Linked DNA regions of Homo sapiens: regions 1, 3 and 4 are each linked to region 2. The links are contacts of gene promoters, found by promoter capture Hi-C in blood cells and fetal thymus (Javierre and others, 2016). All regions are on one chromosome and are shown on one strand. Each heading gives the region's core, a stretch centred on a gene start or on the middle of the fragment in contact. The rest is flanking DNA. Distances are from core to core; before and after follow the strand shown. Region 1 overlaps NR2C1 (nuclear receptor subfamily 2 group C member 1). Region 2 holds the start of USP44 (ubiquitin specific peptidase 44). Region 3 overlaps FGD6 (FYVE, RhoGEF and PH domain containing 6). Region 4 overlaps FGD6 (FYVE, RhoGEF and PH domain containing 6).

The links. Contacts are between HindIII fragments. The CHiCAGO score rates a contact against its expected background, and 5 or more counts as called.
Region 1: a contact is called between a fragment that was not itself captured here and the fragment with the promoter of USP44 in region 2, in 2 of 17 cell types (naive CD8 T cells and activated CD4 T cells). The highest score is 6.7, in naive CD8 T cells.
Region 3: a contact is called between a fragment that was not itself captured here and the fragment with the promoter of USP44 in region 2, in 1 of 17 cell types (erythroblasts). The highest score is 5.0, in erythroblasts.
Region 4: a fragment that was not itself captured here is called in contact with the fragment with the promoter of USP44 in region 2 in 7 of 17 cell types (total CD8 T cells, non-activated CD4 T cells, naive CD4 T cells and 4 more); the score reaches 11.3 in total CD8 T cells.

What each region holds. Positions count from the first base shown.
Region 1 is chr12:95,065,674-95,070,480 of GRCh38, forward strand. NR2C1 (nuclear receptor subfamily 2 group C member 1) reads right to left here. Exons shown (of 14, transcript NM_003297.4): 2 at 1,658-1,718. The coding sequence starts at 1,711. Among named protein-coding and RNA genes, the nearest start is that of NR2C1, 5.5 kb to the right of the region's middle. The HindIII fragment of the contact is 9,664 bases long and covers 1-4,807 here.
Region 2 is chr12:95,549,594-95,554,206 of GRCh38, forward strand. USP44 (ubiquitin specific peptidase 44) reads right to left here and starts at 1,883. Exons shown (of 6, transcript NM_032147.5): 1 at 1,679-1,883. The HindIII fragment of the contact is 4,508 bases long and covers 1,595-4,613 here.
Region 3 is chr12:95,083,804-95,088,495 of GRCh38, forward strand. FGD6 (FYVE, RhoGEF and PH domain containing 6) reads right to left here. Exons shown (of 21, transcript NM_018351.4): 19 at 1,977-2,105; 20 at 695-843. Among named protein-coding and RNA genes, the nearest start is that of NR2C1, 13 kb to the left of the region's middle. The HindIII fragment of the contact is 2,737 bases long and covers 1-2,706 here.
Region 4 is chr12:95,107,145-95,111,741 of GRCh38, forward strand. It overlaps FGD6 (FYVE, RhoGEF and PH domain containing 6), which reads right to left. Exons shown (of 21, transcript NM_018351.4): 10 at 1,359-1,417; 11 at 1,204-1,275; 12 at 419-487. Among named protein-coding and RNA genes, the nearest start is that of NR2C1, 36 kb to the left of the region's middle. The HindIII fragment of the contact is 4,130 bases long and covers 334-4,463 here.

The DNA.
Region 1 (4,807 bases), core at 984-3,483, 480 kb before region 2:
GGGCGCAGGGGCTCACACCTGTAATCCCAGCACTTTGGGAGGCTGAGGTGGGCGGATCATGAGGTCAGGAGTTTGAGACCAGCCTGAGCAACAAGCTGAAACCCCATCTCTATTAAAAATACAAAATTTAGCTGGGCGTGGTGGCAGGCACCTGTAATCCCAGCTACTCAGGAGGCTGAGGCAGGAGAATCCATTGAACCAGGGAGGCGGAGGTTGCAGTGAGCCAAGACAGCGCCACTACACTCCAGCCTGGACAACAGAGCGAGACTTTGTCTCAAAAAAAAAAAAAAAAATTATTGACTATAGTCCCTCTGTTGTGCTATCAAATACTAGGTCTAATTCATTCATCCTATTTTTTTGTACCCATTATAACCTATTTCTTAATGACTAAAAAGTTTATTTTCCAAACAAACAAAAATGTAGTGCAGAGAGTGGCTTTGTTTTACATTTCTACAAATTGCTTTAATATCTAGTTTAACAGAAGTTGGAATCTCATATCTGTTTCTTTATTTAATCTGTTAGACTATGTTGTTTTGGTTATAACAAGGCTGGGCACAGCACCTCACGCCTGTAATCCCAGCGCTTTGGAAGGCCAAGGCCAGTGAACTGCTTGAGCCCAGGAGCTCCAGACCAGCCTGGGCAACATGACAAAACCCTGTTGCTACAAAATATATAAAACATCAGCCAGGCACGTGAGCACAAAAAATGGCCACAAAAAATCAGCCGGAAACCTATTTCTTCACCATATATATACATATACATACATACATATATGTATATATGTTAAAGAAAATTCAGCTTCGTATTTATTGGTTGAAAAGGGGAAGGATATTTTAATACCCTTTTCAAACTGTGAAAGTTGTTCGACACTACATCAACTCAACAAGTGGCAGCTTTTCAAAGGTTAGCAGCAATGTAGAGTCATAAACTATATTAAAATCTGTTGGTCTATCCTGCAATTTAAATGGATCCTTCACTCATGCATAATTTTGTAACATTATACACTGGTCATCCGGAAAGCAATGATTCATTGAGTTATGTACACCTTATAAATGCTGACACATTTCATCATATAGTATCATCACATGTCACACAGTCTGTAGAAAATTCCATTGTATACCTGGGAGAGAACAATACTGAAAAGGCAAATAACATTTCAGTATTATTATAAAAATGGTCTTCACCTGGTTGATTCTCTGAAGTGTCCCCAGATAATACTTTGAGAACTTCCAAATTATGTGGTATCTCTTACTAAGTAATAGGACACAACCATTTAAAAAAATGAAGATGTCAGTATTGATGCTGAACTCCTACTGATCCCACCAAAACTAGGCTCAGATTGTACCCTCTAAAAAGAATTCCCTCAAAAGCATTCCTACTCACTCTACAGCTCTTTAATTTCTTTCCTTCCTTCCTTCCCTTCATTCCTTTCAATTTTCTTCTGTGCTCCCATTGCACCTGATACAATGACCTGTCACAGAACTTACCACATTCTACTATGAATTGTCTGATTATTCAACTATCTCTCAGTAGCTTGAAAAGCTATCTTAAGTTAGGGAATATCTTTTATTTCTGGAACTCCAGAACCTGGTATATGCATTTAGTAGGAATTAGAAAAGTTTGGTGGGCCAGTGCATCAACCGTAAACTAGACATACCTCTCCCATCTGTTGTTCAATAATTTGATGTGCAATTTCTTCTATGGTTGCCATGATCTACCTGCCAAAAATAAAAAGATGTTTTATAATTAAACTCACAAAACACTCTTATTAAATAATTTACAAATAAAACTATATGATATTTAAGATTTGCTTCAAAATAATCTAGTTAAGGTGGGAGGGTTGGCTTTTTCTGAAGTTTCTTTTTTCCATTCATGGGTTGCCTTTTCCATGTGTCTTTTTTATTTTTTTTTTTTTTAAAACAAGGCCCACCCAGGCTGGAGTGTAGGGGGCACCATCACGGCTCACTGCAGTCTCAACCTCCTGGGCTCAAGTGATCCTCCCACCTCAGCCTCCTGAGTAGCTGGAACTACAGGTATACACCACCACACCTGGCTAATTTTTTATTTTTTGTACAGATGGGGTCTCACTGTGTTGCCCAGGCTGGCCTCAAACTCCTGGGCTCAAGCAATCTTCCTGTCTCGACCTCCCAAGTGTTGGTATTGGAATTATCAGCATAAGCCACCATGCCCACCCCTCCATGTATCTTTTTTTTTTTTTTTTTTTTGAGATGGAGTCTTGCTCTGTCACCCAGGTTGGAGTGCAGTGGCATGATCTTGGCTCACTGCAAGCTCCACTTCCTGGGTTCATGCCATTCTCCTGCCTCAGCCTCCCAAGTAGCTGGGACTAGGCACCTGCCACCACGCCAGCTAATTTTTTTGTATTTTTAGTAGAGACAGGGTTTCACTGTGTTAGCCAGGATGGCCTTGATCTCCTGACCTCGTGATCTGCCTGCCTCGGCCTCCCAAAGTGCTGGGATTACAGGCGTGAGCCACTGCACCCGGCCCCAGCCCTCCATGTATCTTTATATGTTTATACGGTCTTCCCTCTGAGTGTCTGTGTCCTCTTCATAGAAGGACATCAGTTATTTTGGATTACGGTACACTCTAATGAACTAATTTTAACTCAATTATCTCTTTTAAGGCCTTATCTCCAATATACTCAATTCTGAGGTACTGGTGGTCAGGACATCACCATAGGAATTTGGGATTCATATGATTTTGTGGGAGAACCGAATTCAGCCCATAACACTCAGGCATAAACCCAATAAGGAACATGCAAGATCTAGGTAGGCAAATAAAACTTTAAAATGCTGCCTAAAGACAAGAAAATCTACACTTGGACCGGCCCCGGTGGCTCACATCTGTATTCCTAGCACTATGGGAGGCCAAGGTGGGCTGATTACCGGAGATCAGGAGTTTGAGACTAGCCTGGCCAACATGGTGAAACGCCATCTCTACTAAAAATACAAAATTAGCCAGGTGTGGTGGTACATGCCTGTAATCCCAGCTACTCAGGAGGCTGAGGCAGTAGAATTACTTGAACCTGGGAGGCGGAGGTTGCGGTGAGCCGAGATTGCACCATTGCACTCCAGTCTGGGCCACAAGAGTGAAATTCTGTCTCATAAAAAAAAAAAAAAAAATTAGCCAGGCATGGTGGCGGGTGCCCGTAATCCCAGCTACTCAGGAGACTGAGGCAGAAGAATCCCATAAACTTGGAAGGCAGAGGCTGTGGTGAGCCAAGATCGTGCCACTGCACTCCAGCCTGGGTGACAGAGAGAGACTCTGTCTCAAAAGAAAAAAAAAGAAAAAGAAAAACTACATCTTAAAAGGACACATAAGAAAGAAAATGGATCCAATAAGTACCTCCAAGGAAAGAAACTGCAAGTTTGGAAACAGGAATGGAAGGGAGACTTATTTTTCATTGAATAAGTGTTTGATGCTTTTAAATTTTGCTTAAATACAAGGATTACCACAAAAATTAAAGTAATAAACAAATAAGAAATCTCTTCCAGAAATCCTAAAATCAACACCAGTGTATTGGTGCATTAGACTCAAAGAAGTCACCTCCTAATGAAAACTTAGGGAGATAAACTATTTGTTTATCTGAATGAATTCCAGGGACTCATTAGATCAATATATAGTCATGTACTGCACAATGTTTTAGTCAATGAATGAGACTGCATATACAATAGCGGTACCACAAGTTTACACCCATAACACTGTATTTTTACTACACCTCTTCCACGTTTAGATTTGTTACTTACATAAATACTACTGTGTTAAAACTGCCTACAGTACTCACTAAAGTAACATGCTGTGTGGGTTTGTAAATTAAGAGCAACAGGCTATGCTGTATAGCCTATGTGTATGGTAAGTTATACCATTTAGTTTTGTGTAAGTATGCTCTATGATGTTCATCTGTGATAAAATCACTTAGGGATGCTTTTCTCAGAACACATCCCCATAACATATGACTATATTTTCCAAGACTAAATTTAACTCCGAAGATAAGGCAACACACACATTCCTTTTTTTCCCCCATAATTTTGTGACTGGATGACTGAAAAAAAATGCTTTTAAACATTAATCCATCCATCCATGCATCTATGCATCCATGCATGCATCCATCCATCCATCCAACACTCACTGCTGCTACTGCATGGGGATTCTCAACCTTATAAAAAAAAAGCAACTCTCCCTTTCCCTAACTACACCTTTCAGTTGATTGAGTCCCTGATGTCTTCCAGGATCTATGCCTGACCCTGGGATAGGATAATAAAGATGGTCTCTACCCTGAAGAGATGAGAAAGAAGTAGGTAAGTAATGGTGTAAGTTAAGGCTGCTCTGATAGCAGTGTCTGTTTTCTTCCCATTCTTCCCAACTTCAAATAGGATCCAGCCTGATAAACTGGCCTTGAGTAGCCAATACAAAAGTAAAATTTACAAGTTTTTTTTGTTTTTTGTTTTTTGTTTTTTTGAGACAGAATCTTGCTCTGTCACCTAGGCTGGAGTGCAGTGGTGCAATCTCGGCTCACTACAACCTCTGCCTCCCAGGTTCAAGCAATTCTCCTGCCTCAGCCTCCCGAGTAGCTGGGATTACAGGCATGCACCACCATGCCCAGGTACTTTTTGTATTTTTAGTAGAGAAAGGGTTTCACCATGTTGGCCAGGCTGGTCTCGAATTCTTGATCTCAAGTGATCCGCCCACCTCAGCCTCACAAAGTGTGGGGATTACAGGTATGAGCCACCACACCTAGCCAACACACACATTCTTTATACACTGTTGGTGGAAGGTTAGACTGTTTTAA
Region 2 (4,613 bases), core at 633-3,132:
CTGTGGAGTGTACTGAAAATTTAAAAACTCTCCAAGGAGAGCTTAAAAAGAAGACAAACATGCAAAGTTAACAATACATCAATGCAGTGCAAAATCTTGCAATATGTAAGACAAGGTATAAAATTGTTCCTATCTTTTCATCATCAGTTTTATTCTGGGGAGTATGTTTCAGTGGTATGACCTGAATAAAGAAATGAGTGCACAAAGGTATTCACAGCATATTATCCAAACACCGTAAAAGGCAAGAAGGAGCGGCACAGGATTCTAACTAACAGGAAATGGCTAATTAAGGTCTGACATAGAGGCCGGGCGCAGTGGCTCACGCCTGTAATCACAGCACTTTGGGAGGCCAAGGCGGGTGGATCACCTGAGGTCAGGAGTTCGAGAGCAGCCTGGCCAACATAGTGAAACCCTGTCTCTACTAAAAATACAAAAATTATCCGGGCCTGGTGGCGGGCACCTGTAATCCCAGCTACTCGGTAGGCTGAGACAGGACAATCGCTTGAACCCAGGAGGCGGAGGTTGTGGTGAGCCTAGATCCACAATTGCACTCAAGCCTGGGCAGCAACAAGAGCGAAACTCCGTCTCAGAAAAAAAAAAAAAAAAAAAAAATCTGATATAACACAGGAAGTTCTTATGTTAACAAAATAGATACAAAATAGCAACAATGTCTAATCAATTCATGTTTGAAAAAAATACCAAATATGTACATTAAGGTTACAACTGCATAAAATGTAGTCATGCAAATAAAGATTAAAGGGATGAATTTGCATAGTTTAATACTCATTTTGTTCTTTTTTCTATATATTTAAGTGCATAATAATTCTGATTCAATAATGACCCCAGTGCACTTCTCCCACTCAAAACATCTAACCTCTATGTTGTACTTTTGCCCACCACCTGAATTTCTCAAATGCATTAAAAGCATTACATGAGGGCATCTCTTAAGATGAAATATTTAAAATTTAAGTATTTCTGGCATGCAATATGGTTTTTCCTGTAATTCCTTGAAAGCAAAATATTAATAATAGAAAAATCAAAACTCTTGCTTTCCTATTATAATGCCATAAAACCATTCTGGAAGGTCGTTTGGGAGATAGGAAGAGTCTTAGTTGCCTCCCTCTGATCTAGTAATTGGGCGGGGTCTTTTAAGGACTAAAATGATGTGAATAAATGAAGAGAAAAAGTGAAATGGGAAGAAAAGCAAAGGCAAGCTGTGTAAGGCATAGGTGGAGAGTGCTGAATAGTGTCTTCAATAAAATGCCTTAATACAATGATGTAAGCTAGGAAGAGGTGCGGAGTGGGAAGGGAAGAGGCTGGAGACAAATTCTCATTACTAGTGTTAGTAATTAAAGAGCAGATGTTTGTAGTTTAGCTTTTTCTTCATACTTATTACTACTTATTCAACTTTGAAATTTCCTCAGCTACCATTTTATTCATGATCTTCACTATCTAGGCCTAAATTATAGCATGCTCTAGCTCATTTCCTGAGCTCCAGAACCTCTCTATTGCAATTTTATTTTTACATAGCAATCATAGTCATTCTTCTCCTTAAATTTTCCTATTTGTTTTTTAACCCGTCTCATCGAATCTAAGCTTTTTACTGTAACATTAAAAAAAAGAAAAGAAAAAAGCCTCCTTCCCTGCCCACCTTCATCAATGATGTCCCCAAACTTACCTATTAAAACCTCAAAATCAGTCTTTCCCCAGGTCGGCCTTTGGATAACTCAGAGGTCAGTCCCTGCAGGATCGCCCAGTTTCCATCAGGGCAAATGCTGATCTCCTAAGTGAAAAGTCCTGGCGGCTGCCTCCAGTGCCCCCCTGCAAATCATTACAAATCAACCTCTTTCAGGTTTGGCTTAAACTCTCACCTCCTGGAAACTGCTTTCCTGAAGTCACAAACCGGGCGTGCAGATCCCCATCCCCCACCCCCAGCAGTGCATTATTATGCAGTCACTGCTTTTGTTCCGAGTTCTGAGCCTGCTTCTATTTGCATCGTAACCTCTTTGGGGGCCGGGACTGTGCACTTGCTCCCTTTCTATACCTCTCCACAGTTCCTAGTACCGGCCAAAAACACTGCTGAAATGCCTAATGAATCAACCAGAAGTTCCTTAGCATAATATAGGAGCGTGGAAGTGATGTTTAGGGGGGCTTCCCTTGCTTCCCTGATCCCCAGATGGAGAGAAATGGCAATTTGCCCTTCCAAGGTAAGCAGTTTCCTAAACCAGATAAAATTTTAACGATTCTGAAACCTAATGGATGTGTAACTACTCAATTCTGAGTTACTACACAAACAGTTTTGCCCTTTGTATCCTGAGAGAAAAGTACGAATGAATTAAAAGAAGACAAAACATTGTAAATTTCATAAACCTCAGAGTGGCTTTTTATGCTTTATGTCGATTTTTAGAATTTCCTAGTCCAGTCTTTCATGAATCGAAGAATATTTCAGGAATCATAATTGCAGACTAAAGAATTTATGAGCTTGTGAAATTTTAGGAATCACTTTTAAGACTTTTCAGAGTTTTACAGACAATGCTCTTACCTAATAACTAATATTCGCTTAACATTTTTTTCAACACCTAAATGCCTGGCACCATGCTAAGCATTGAGATATTCATAGCATTCATTTCAATGGTTATGAGGAGATGAAGGATTGAGCAGAGGAAGTGGGTAAAGAAACGCTAAATAACTCAGCCATAAACTTTTGATTAAGGTGTAGCAACACACTTCAGTTGAACTTTTTAAATGAGAGGAACCCAAACGACCTTAAATTTCTGGCAAATATGAAAGAAAGGAGTTGAGAAAAAAGGAGTATGGAAAAAAGAGCAGCAGATGTAAGCTATGGCCTTAGTGGAGGAAAGTGAGTAGAAGGGGCTTTAGAATTCGCCTTTTTTCTTTAATTCTAAGAATGAGGTTGGTAGCAGGTAAGGAAGGTAAATGCCAGCTGAGTAGATGGTACCAAAGTTGATTTGTTTTTAAAAGACCATTGTTTATTTGGTGGTCTGTCAGGGAAACTTGTACCTTGCAGGTGAATTTCCAACATAGGCCTACTGGAAACTGAAACCCTGAGCCCCAGGGTTTAGGTATAAATGGAAGCAAAATTGTGAAGTGAGTCCATTTCTCCCCCTTTTTAAACATAAACATCCACTCCACCTCCACCCTATACTCAGTTTTTCTTTTCTTTTCTTTTCTTTTTTTTTTTTTTTTTGAGACAGAGTCTCGCTCTGTCACCCAGGTTGGAGTGCCGTGGCGTGATCTCGGCTCACTGCAACCTCCGCCTCCCGGGTTCAAGCAGTTCCCCTGCCTCAGCCTCCTGAGTACCTGGGATTACAGGTATGCACCACCACGCCTGGTTAATTTTTGTATTTTTAGTAGAGACGGGGTTTCACCATGTTGGTCAGGCTGGTCTCCAACTCCTGACCTCGTGATCTGCCCGCCTCGGCCTCCCCAGGTGCTGGGATTACAGGCGTGAGCCACCACGCCTGGCCCACTCTATACTCACTTTTACAGGGATCCTCAGGATGCTGTGTCCAGGGCTTTACTGCAGTCTGTCTCTCTTCCTTCCCATCAAAACTCTTCCCATTTTGTTCAGGACAGGTACACCAACCTTTCATTCTCTCTTTTTATTTATTTTTAAAATGGAGACAGGGTTTTGTCACCAGGCTGGAGTGCAGTAGCGTGATCATGGCTCACTGCAGCCTTGACCTCTCAGGCTCAAGCAATCTTCCCACCTCAGCTTCCTGTGTAACTGGGACCACAGGCATGCGACACAACTTCTGCTAATTGATTTTTTGTAGAGATGTGGGGGTGGAGGGGGGTTCTCCCTATGCTACCCAGGCTGGTCTCAAACTCCTGGCCTCAAGCAATCCTTGTGCCCCGGCCTCCCAAAGTGCTGGGGTTACGAGCATGAGCCACCATGCCTGGCCCCAACCTGTCATTATCTAAGGAGCTCAGTTATGAAGTAAAGTTATCTACTTTGTATTATTAGTGTTTAGTATTTTTTTTTCCATTTCTCTCTCAGACTGTTCTACCTCCTGTAGACACCCAGAGTTTGGAATTTCTAAAATGACATTTTAAACATTGTGACAGATCAGTGGGATAGATATTTTGCTAAGCCAAGGTACTTCCTTTCCAAGGATAAGCTATGGGAGGTGATGACAGCAGAATACACACACACACACACACACACAATACACGCAGACACACATATATATACTCATATGCACATATATAATTAGAACTCATTTAGCTATAATAACAATTTGTCCATCTAGTTATTTGCAATCCTTTCAGGATTTTTAAAATTTCTATCTCATTTGTAGAGTTTGGAAAATAGTATCTGTCCTATCTTCTTCACAATAATGTTTTAAGGACCAAATGAGGTTTTGTCCATGGAACCTGCCTAAACTGTAAGGAGAAAAGTCAGTGTGTTTATCATTATTTCTCTCTTAGGTTTACTATTACCCTGTAAAGTTCTTTGAAGTCAGAAACAGACTTTTGTTCATATTTACAACCCCTATAGCAATTAATACAGAACCTCACTCAGGATAGATAAGCAGTATTCCCTTAAATCAAGTTTTACTTCTGTACTAAAGTAATAGTCAATTCAAGGA
Region 3 (4,692 bases), core at 88-2,587, 470 kb before region 2:
TGAAAACAAAAATGTATTCTTTTGTGAAGCCAAGGTAAAAATCAAATGAGAGATGATGAACTATTTTGTTCAAAAGAGACCTAATTTCACAGAGGTAGATACGCATCTCTATGTTAAGCAAACTGATAACATCTAAGTAAAGATTCTTGCTGGAATTCTGAGGAGACTGTTTCAGCCTTTGCCATCTAAACTGATAGCCATTTCCTTCTACTCAGTCACTGGAACAGCATGGGAGTCTCTTAATGTGTTTGACCTTTTCCCCAAAGAAGTTAGCGAGCAGCTGTTTAAACTCCTGCTGTTCCATGGCACAAATGAATCGCTGGATTGCCAAAGTCCTGGAATGTTTCAAGGGAAGATTCTTACCCTCATAGAAGGAGAGGTCAAATGCCTTAGCTTTCCTTCCTTTCAGCAGAGCAGCATCACGCTGCTTCCTCTGAGATCACGTGTAGATAAAATACTTTGTATAGGACTACCTATTTTCTTTTCCCCTCTGCCTCCTGAAAATATTCCAGATACCCCTGCCTTGTCTTTAAAACAATTCTGAAGAGTTTAAATAATACGTTAAATCTTTCTAATTAAAATCTCTGATGTAAATTTTGAGTTGTCCCCATGCCTTAAAGTAGGTCATTTTACAAGCAACCATTAAAAAACTGAAATCTCATGAATAAAAGAAAAATATGGCCAGATTACTTACTTCTGAGCCGAATGAGCATCCTCTGCTTTGAATACATAAAATAACATGTTTTTGTGCAGTAACTGAAATACTTTAGACTCGGAATTCTCATCTTTAACTTGAATAACAGTGAATCCTAATAAAGGCTGACTCTCCAAAGCGGCCACGTCCTAATTTAAAAACATACAAATGGAGAAAAGTTTTTAGATTGAGACAAAATTCAGATTTGAAAACTCTTGATCTACATAGCTCTAATTTAATTTCAATTATTCACATATAAGGTAATGATAATTCTAACAACTTACTCACTTCTCATTTATTCAATAATATTCATTGAGCCACTCCCTCCCTAGGTACCCTATATGCCAGGCACTGTGGCACACAATTTCTGGCATGTTCACATCTACTGAATTTCACAACATCCTCACTAAACCAAGGAAGGCACGTGATTATATTACTTTCATTTTATGGATGCAGAAAACAGCTCAGAAAGGTAAGCTATTCACCTGGATCTCACTAAGGAAAAGTGTGGACCCTACAGCAGTGTTTTCATAGGATGGTGGAACACAGGGTGATCAGGTAGGAGAAAAGGACAGAATTAGAGTAAACTGCTAGAATTGTTTATAATCCAAAAAAGCCTATCTTATCTATGCTGCTGTCAGATCAATGCAATCTAACGATGACAGTAAAGGGAGTATCACTCAAGAGAGCTTGGCAGAAAGAAACACAGCTCTGCCTTTTTTTTTTTTTTTTTTTTTGAGACAGAGTCTCTCTGTTGCCCAGGCTGGAGTGCAGTGGCACGATCTCAGCTCACTGCAACCTCTGCCTCCCGGGTTCAAGCAATTCTCCTGCTTCACCCTCCCAAGTGTCTGGGATTACAGGCACTCCACTAATATTTGTATTCTTAGTAGAGACGGGGTTTCGCCATGTTGGCCAGGCTAGTCTCGAACTCCTGACCTCAGGTGATCCACCCCCACTCAGCCTCCCAAAGTGCTGGGATTACAGGTGTGAGCCAGTGCACCTGGGGGCAGCTCTGCCTTTAGTAAAGTAATTAGTAGTCACACGACACACACAAAAATTGCATTTTAATAATATGGAAAATTCCTAACACATTTGAGAAAGAGCTCTCCAGGTACAAAGCAAGAACACTGTTCACATTAAAAATAACAGCAACAACACCTCCCCCATCCAAAAGCAAAGCAAAAAATCTTATGTAAAATAAATGGATTTTTAAAATATTGTAATTACTTGCAGTTGGCATTACAAAACCCCAAATTACTCATCTTTAGATTTCAGATCTTACCTCACTTGCAGCATATGTATATAGTACTTTATTTTTTATGACAAACCAAAAGTGTTTCCAGGGTTTTTTATTGCCCTTTGATCTGTACAAGTAGCCACTCATAGAAGAATCCTCTGTGTTTGCTGATACCTAGATAAGAAACCCCATACAAAGTTTAATGGTTTTCAGACAAATTATAACAGCAAAATTATTTGCAACCAATAGGTGCTGAAAGCAATAACTGTAATGATAGAATGTTTCAGAATGAAATATATTTTCAAAGTGCTACTATACAAATTGAACTCTGCTATTAACATGAGCACAAAAAAGAAGACAACCATGTTAGAGGCAATTATAGAATTTTACTTGGTTTAACTGTGCCTGCACGTGTTTGCGTATGTTTCTTGGTGGGTTCATCTGTGTTTTCTGGGTTGGCAGGTGAAGAAAAATAGTTCCAGAAGACTAAAATGCTTTTCTAAAAGCTGGATTTGGGGACTTGGGGATTTGTTTTTTATTGCTCTTATTTTGGGGCATCAGGGAAAATTATTTGAACCTTTAATTCTGTTCCTAAAAAACTTTTTGGACTTCTAAAAACCATACAAACAGAATAATAAACAGAAAATTCTACTATTAAGGAAGCTCATTTTAAGAATCAATCTTTGCTTCCCAAATTATAGTAAGAAAGAAAAGAGGCTAATTTTTACTTCATAAAAAGTTGAAAATGTTTTCATCTCTATGCAAAAAGACAGTAAGCTTTTACTGATTGATTTTTTTTTTCTTTTTTTTTTTTTTTTTTTTTGAGACTGAGTCTTGCTCTGTCACCCAGGCTGGAGTGCAGTGGCCCGATCTCAGCTCACTGCAAGCTCCACCTCCCAGGTTCACGCCATTCTCCTGCCTCAGCCTCCCGAGTAGCTGGGACTACAGGCGCCTGCCACCACGTCCGGCTATTTTTTTTTTTTGTATATTTTTAGTAGAGATGGGGTTTCATCATGTTAGCCAGGATGGTCTCCATCTCCCGACCTTGTGATCCACCCGCCTTGGCCTCCCAAAGTGCTGGGATTACAGGCGTGAGCCACCACACCGGCCTTTTTTTTTTTTTTTTTTTTTTTAAGACAGTCTCACTCTGTCACCCAGGCTGGAGTGCAGTGGCACAATCTCAGCTCGCTGCAACCTCTGCCTCTTGGGTCCAAGCACTTCTCGTGCCCCAGCCTCCCGAGTAGCTGGGATTACAGGCGTGCACCACCATGTCCAGCTAATTTTTGTATTTTTAGTCGAGACAGGGTTTCGCCATGTTGGCCAGGTTGGTGTTGATTTGCCTGCCTTGGCCTCCCAAAGTGCTGGGATTACAGGTATGAGCTATCGTGCCTGGCCTATTGACTCTAATAATGGTTATTAAAAGCTGTGTTCTTAAAAATGTAGGAGTAGATAAATAACAAAATGTTTAGGATCTACCTTAGTAATGGTATGGCAGGCACACGCTTAAGGTGGCTTCCCATGACCCTTGCTGTAGAGAGTCACACTGCTGTACATTCTCCTCCCCCTGAGTGTGGACAGGACCTACGACTTGCTTCTAACTAAGAATTTGGTGAGGGTGATAGGATGTCACTCCCATGATCAAGCTACCTTATATATGGCCCTGTCTTGTTAGGAGACACTCTAGAAACTTTCTTCCTTGCTGGCTTTGAACAAAGTAGCAATGTTGAGAGGTCCACATGGCAAGGAGCTGAGGACCTCCAGCCAAAAGCTAGTAAGAAGGCAAGGCCCCCAGTCTTGCAAGTACAAGGAAATGAATTCCCAGATGAGCCTCTAGATGAGAACTCAGTACTTGCCAAAACTTTGATTATAGCCCTGCAGAGTCCCAGCTAACCCATGCCTGGACTCTGGAGATAATAAATGTATGTTGTTTTAAGCTGCTAAGTTTGTGGTAATTTATTATGCAGAAATGGAAAACTAATACACATGCGCTCTGTGAATTTTTAAAGTGTATCTTTAATTATATTAATTTCTTATAAATTTCATGAAAATAATTATATATTGTTTAGTGGGAAATTTAAGATCTAACATTAAATTAGAAATATTTGTTAAGCAACAGTAGGTTTATATAAATACATCCTTATAAAGACTACCAAGTAATTTTTTAAAAAACTAGAATTGTTTCCTATCTCAGTGAAAAAAAAGAGGAAAAAAATCCAACTAGAATGTTTAACATTCAAATGAGATTTTGCTTAAAATATAGTTACATTGGAATCCTACTATATTCTTATCTAAGTTGTTATTAATGTTGCTCAAAATATATTACATTTCTCCTTTATACCAATTTAGGACCAGTTTAGTAGCCACACAAGAAGATCAACCATAATACTGAATAGCCATGACTAGACCTATATTTTCAAAGATAAAACTGGTGTTCACCAACTTAATCACCTAACTGATCCACAAAACATGTCTTCCAATGATTTGATTATTTACAAAATAAATCAGGGTTGTGGGGGTGAGGGACTATAAAACTACATTTTGGGTACACTGTATACTGCTCAGGTGATGGGTGCACTAAAATCTTAGACTTTACCATTATACAACTCATCCATGTAACCAAAACCCACAGGTACCCCAGAAGCAATGAAAATTAAAAAAAAATAATCCAACTCCAACTCAAAAGCTGTAGTCTGCCATTACTGAGAGTACTGAGGCTCTAAATGTAATTCTAAAAAGAGGAGTTTCTAAAAATATTTTAAAC
Region 4 (4,597 bases), core at 1,149-3,648, 440 kb before region 2:
CTCTCTGAATAAAATACTTATATTCTGCTATATACACTAGAACTACCCAGAATGTTTATTAGAATATAATTTAAAAGGCACTTTCTGGAAAACGTGCTTTATTTCCAAGTTCTGTAACAGATTTAATGTTTTTTGAATTCTAAATCCCACAAAGGTATTAGTCTGCCTAAACAAATGATTAGAACAATTTTCCAAGTTAGAAATGGAATAAATTCCAAAAAGAAATAATCTTCTGGTTATACATCATAACAGACGTTATTTCCCATACTTGAAATGCAATTAAGTGGTACGGCCAGTTCAAGAAGCTGGTGAGGCTGATATTTGAAGGTGCTAAGCTTATCTACCATGTATAAACGTCTCCTTTCCTTAAGCAACTATCCCTACCTCGGCCACATCAGAACTACACAAGTCCTCTTACCAGGAAAAACATTCGAGGTTGCATCACTTTCCGAGACAGCTTCATCAGAATTCCTTCTTTGAGAAAAACCTGATTCACCCAAACAAACACCCATTTAGTCCTACCATCACAACACAACGACAATATAATTTCCTTTTCAACTTTCTTCCCTGAGAATTTTTTTCATGACAGACTGGGGAGCCACAGTTTCCTTGAGATTTTTTACAGTCATAGTTAATTTTAAACCCTTAAATCATTTAGGAATCGGACAAGCAAGCAGGGTTGGATAATTCCAATATTGGCCCCTGGGATACTGTATGGAGGCACATGTAATTGACTGAGCGTGTACTTGATCCTGAAGCATACCCAACATCCTGACAACCGCATTTTGTAATTTTCCCGAATTAATTCCCTAGGCCACTTTTGTGCTATATGAGGAGGATCAAAATACCAATCTCCCCCCTCCCTTCATAATCCTCTCTTACATTAAAGATGTTAAATGAAATTGTCTTCAAAACTGTGTGAGGTCGCTGGCATCACACAAGAAAACGATCCCATTAAATCAGATACTCTGTGGGGTCCCTTGCCGCTCCCCTAATTGAACTGGACTTACTTCATAAATGGGCTTATTCCTAATTGAATTGTCACAGTGACTTACATCATGAATGTTTTGAACGGATAAAGTGATCAAAATTGAATCAATGAAGAGTAACAAAAACAACCTATTTTTATAAAATGATAAACAGATACAGATGGTACCTAAATGCATCGTATTAAGTTTGCGAAAAGCAATGTAAAATGCTTACCCGACCAGGCTGCACAATTTCATGGTGTCCATTTAAGCTGTACTGAATTTGCATAAGTTTCTGAAAGTTGTCCTACAGAAAGACAATGGAAAGCATATGAAGGCCTGGGCTTTCAGGTTCAAGACCACACCAGCCACTGACAACAAGACACTTACTCCTTGCTTCATGGTGTCATTGGCGTGGTTGGCTACCTCTATAACAACAGCAAGGGCATCTGAAATAGGCAGGAACAAAACGTGCATTTAGTAATTACAATGGAAACAAATAGTTTGCAACATTAAGCAATTCCAGGGGACAAGATAGCTAGTTTATAGCAACCAACCTCTGGAGGAGCTTATTGACTGTGAGTAGGCAGAAATATAAGGTTCAATGAAGGCAAAACCAAACCAAACCAAACAACACCACCACCACCAAAAACCTGGCCAAAACAATATATAGGGAAACAATGAGCCAAAAGAAGACTCTAAAGAGACACTGTAGACCATGTTTACTAACAGTATGAATGTCAGGGTTGTTTTGTGCTGTGATTTGATTATCCTATTCAAGTTTACAAAGATAAGGATGGGATTTCACCTGGAAGATAAGGACCAGCCCAGTATAAACTGTCTTGGGAGAAAAGGATCGTGAGGAAAAAGGATCTTGTTATAGGAAATAAAAACTACAAGAAATGACTAAGATCAGGTCTCAGTCTCTTAGTCTGATTCCAAGAGGCATGAATTAGAAATGGGGGAAATGCCACATGGAAGCATCCCAGATCTTAGGAATTTGCAAGTGTCATTTTGTGAGCTGGGTTATTAGCTTCATGGGCCTATCTGTGTTTTATTCTTTTTATTAACCCTTTGCCTTTAGCAAAGTGTTTTTCCATACTCCAGCCTTGTCATCTTTATAACTAGGTCTAAAGGAAAAAGTCTGCATTTTCTCAGCTTTGGGGCTGCAGTTATTCTCAACCCAAGGCCATAGTGCTCCCTTAGGGACATGTGAACCTGTGTAAAGACAATTTTTGCTTGTCACAATGACCAGGAAGATCCACTGGCCTTTGGTGGGTAGGAGGCAGGGATGCCAAACTCCATGCAATACTCCTTAGAAACCCACACAAAGATTATTCAGAACAATATGACAGTAGCATTCCCACTGAGAAAAACTGGTAGAGTGTTAGAGAGGGAAGCATCTCCTCCTGAGGCTGCTGTGGCAGTGACAGTGGTCATCAAAAAAAGGACTATTAAAAAAAAGAGTGGCTGGGCGCGGTGGCTCACGCCTGTAATCCGAACACTTTGGAAGGCTGAGGTGGGCGGATCATTTGAGCTCAGGAGATCGAGACCAGCCTCAGCAATAAGGTAAAACCTTGTTTCCACAAAAAATCCAAAAATTAGCTGGGTGTCGTGGCTCATGTCTGCAGTCCAGCAATTTGGGGCGCTCAGGTGGGAGGATCATTTGAGCCCAGGAGGTCAAGGCTGCAGTGAGCCCAGATCACACCACTGCATTCCAGCCTAGGTGACAGAATGAGGCCCTGTCTCAACAAAACAAAACGAAACAAAAACAACAACAGTAAATCAATTTCTGAAAAGGGGTTGAGGTGTTTTGGTCCAGTTATTGTAATCTATCAAAGGACTGTCTTCCTGGTACCAGCCGTGGAGGCTTCTGTATTCTTTTTTTTTTTCTTGCTCTGTCACCCAGGTTGGAGTGCAGTGGCGCGATCTTGGCTCACTGCAAGCTCCACCTCCCGGGTTCACACCATTCTCCTGCCTCAGCCTCCCAAGTAGCTGGGACTACAGGCACCTGCCACCACGTCCAGCTAATTTTTTGTATTTTTAGTAGAGACGGGGTTTCACCGTGTTAGCCAGGATGGTCTTGATCTCCTGACCTCGTGATCCGCCCGCCTCAGCCTCCCAAAGTGCTGGGATTACAGGTGTGAGCCACCACACCCGGCCTGTATTCTTTCCACATGTATCATCATCACTATTATTAAAGGAAAGCAGGTTTTTCCTTATATAGAGACCCTGACTATATATCAGAATTTTTTTTTTTTTTTGAGACAGTCTTGCTCTGTCTCCCAGGCTGAAGTGCAGTGGCATGATCTTGGCTTACTCAACCTCCGCCTCCCAGATTCAAGCAATTCTCCTGCCTCAGTCTCCTGCATAGCTGACATTACAGGTGCACACCAGTATGCCCAGCTAATTTTTGTATTTTTAGTAGAGACGGGGTTTCGCCATGTTGGCAGGGCTGGTCTCAAACTCCTGACCTCAGGTGATCCACCCGCCGCAGCCTCCCAAAGTGCTGGGATTACAGGTGTGAGCCACGGTACTCAGCCATGTATCAGAATTTACGGTGCCTGGTACCCTTTTCACAGCAGGTTCAAGAGGTTACCGTGGACACATTTCCTGCTTTCTGGCCTGCTGGAATTCCCGGTGGACAGGGGAGAGATGCCTTAAGATTTAATGGATGACAAAGCTGCTGCTGCTACTTGGTCACCTGGTCTCCCAAGCTCTACCTTCCCTACTCCATGCTGTGATTCTACTTTCCCCACGTCATCCCGTTAAGAGGCCCTGATGCCTCTATTCCTTTAACTCTTCTGCCTACCTTTCAAAGTTATTCTTGCCTCACCTTCCCTCACCCTTGAAGTCTCATCCACACTGCTCACCACTCTTTTTTTCCTGAGACAGAGTCTTGCTCTGTCGCCCAGGCTACAGTGCAGTCGCGGGATCTCGGCTTACTACAACCTCCATCTCCCAGGTTCAAGCGATTCTCATGCCTCAGCTACTGAGTACCTGGTATTACAGGCATGCACCCCCATGCCCCACTAATCTTTGTATTTTTAGTAGCAAAGGGTTTTGCCATGTTGCCCAGGCTGGTCTTGAATTCCTGGCCTCAAGTGACCCACCTGCCTCGGCCTCCCAAATTGCTGGGATTATAGGCATGAGCCACCACGCCCGGCCACTGCTCACCATATGATTGCTGTGCCTCTGGCCATACAGTGGGCCTCACTGTTCACTGGTTTTCTCATCTATGTCTTTGCTGTCACATGTAATTTCCTTTAAATAAGCTCCTTAATCTCTGACCCTGAATTTGTTTTATGTGTAAAATGGAGCTAATAACTCACTTTCATTGAAGGCAGAAGCCCAGGACCCAGGACAGATGTTTTCTTTCTATTCTATAAGTTCCATGTATAATTTGTATCCTCACGAGAGGGGCTGCCGTCGGGAATGCTCATTTTTCCTCTCACCCACTCTCCCACTCATCTCCAGTCCTACTTTTTCCTGCAAAGCTTCCCTGCCTCTTTAACCTTCACACTTTTCTCTGTCATCCAAATAATTCTGTCCTGCTCGGTGCACCCTTACTTTGAAGTCATTTGCTTTGTTCTTTATTTGATGGATATTATAAACTTCTTCATCAACTA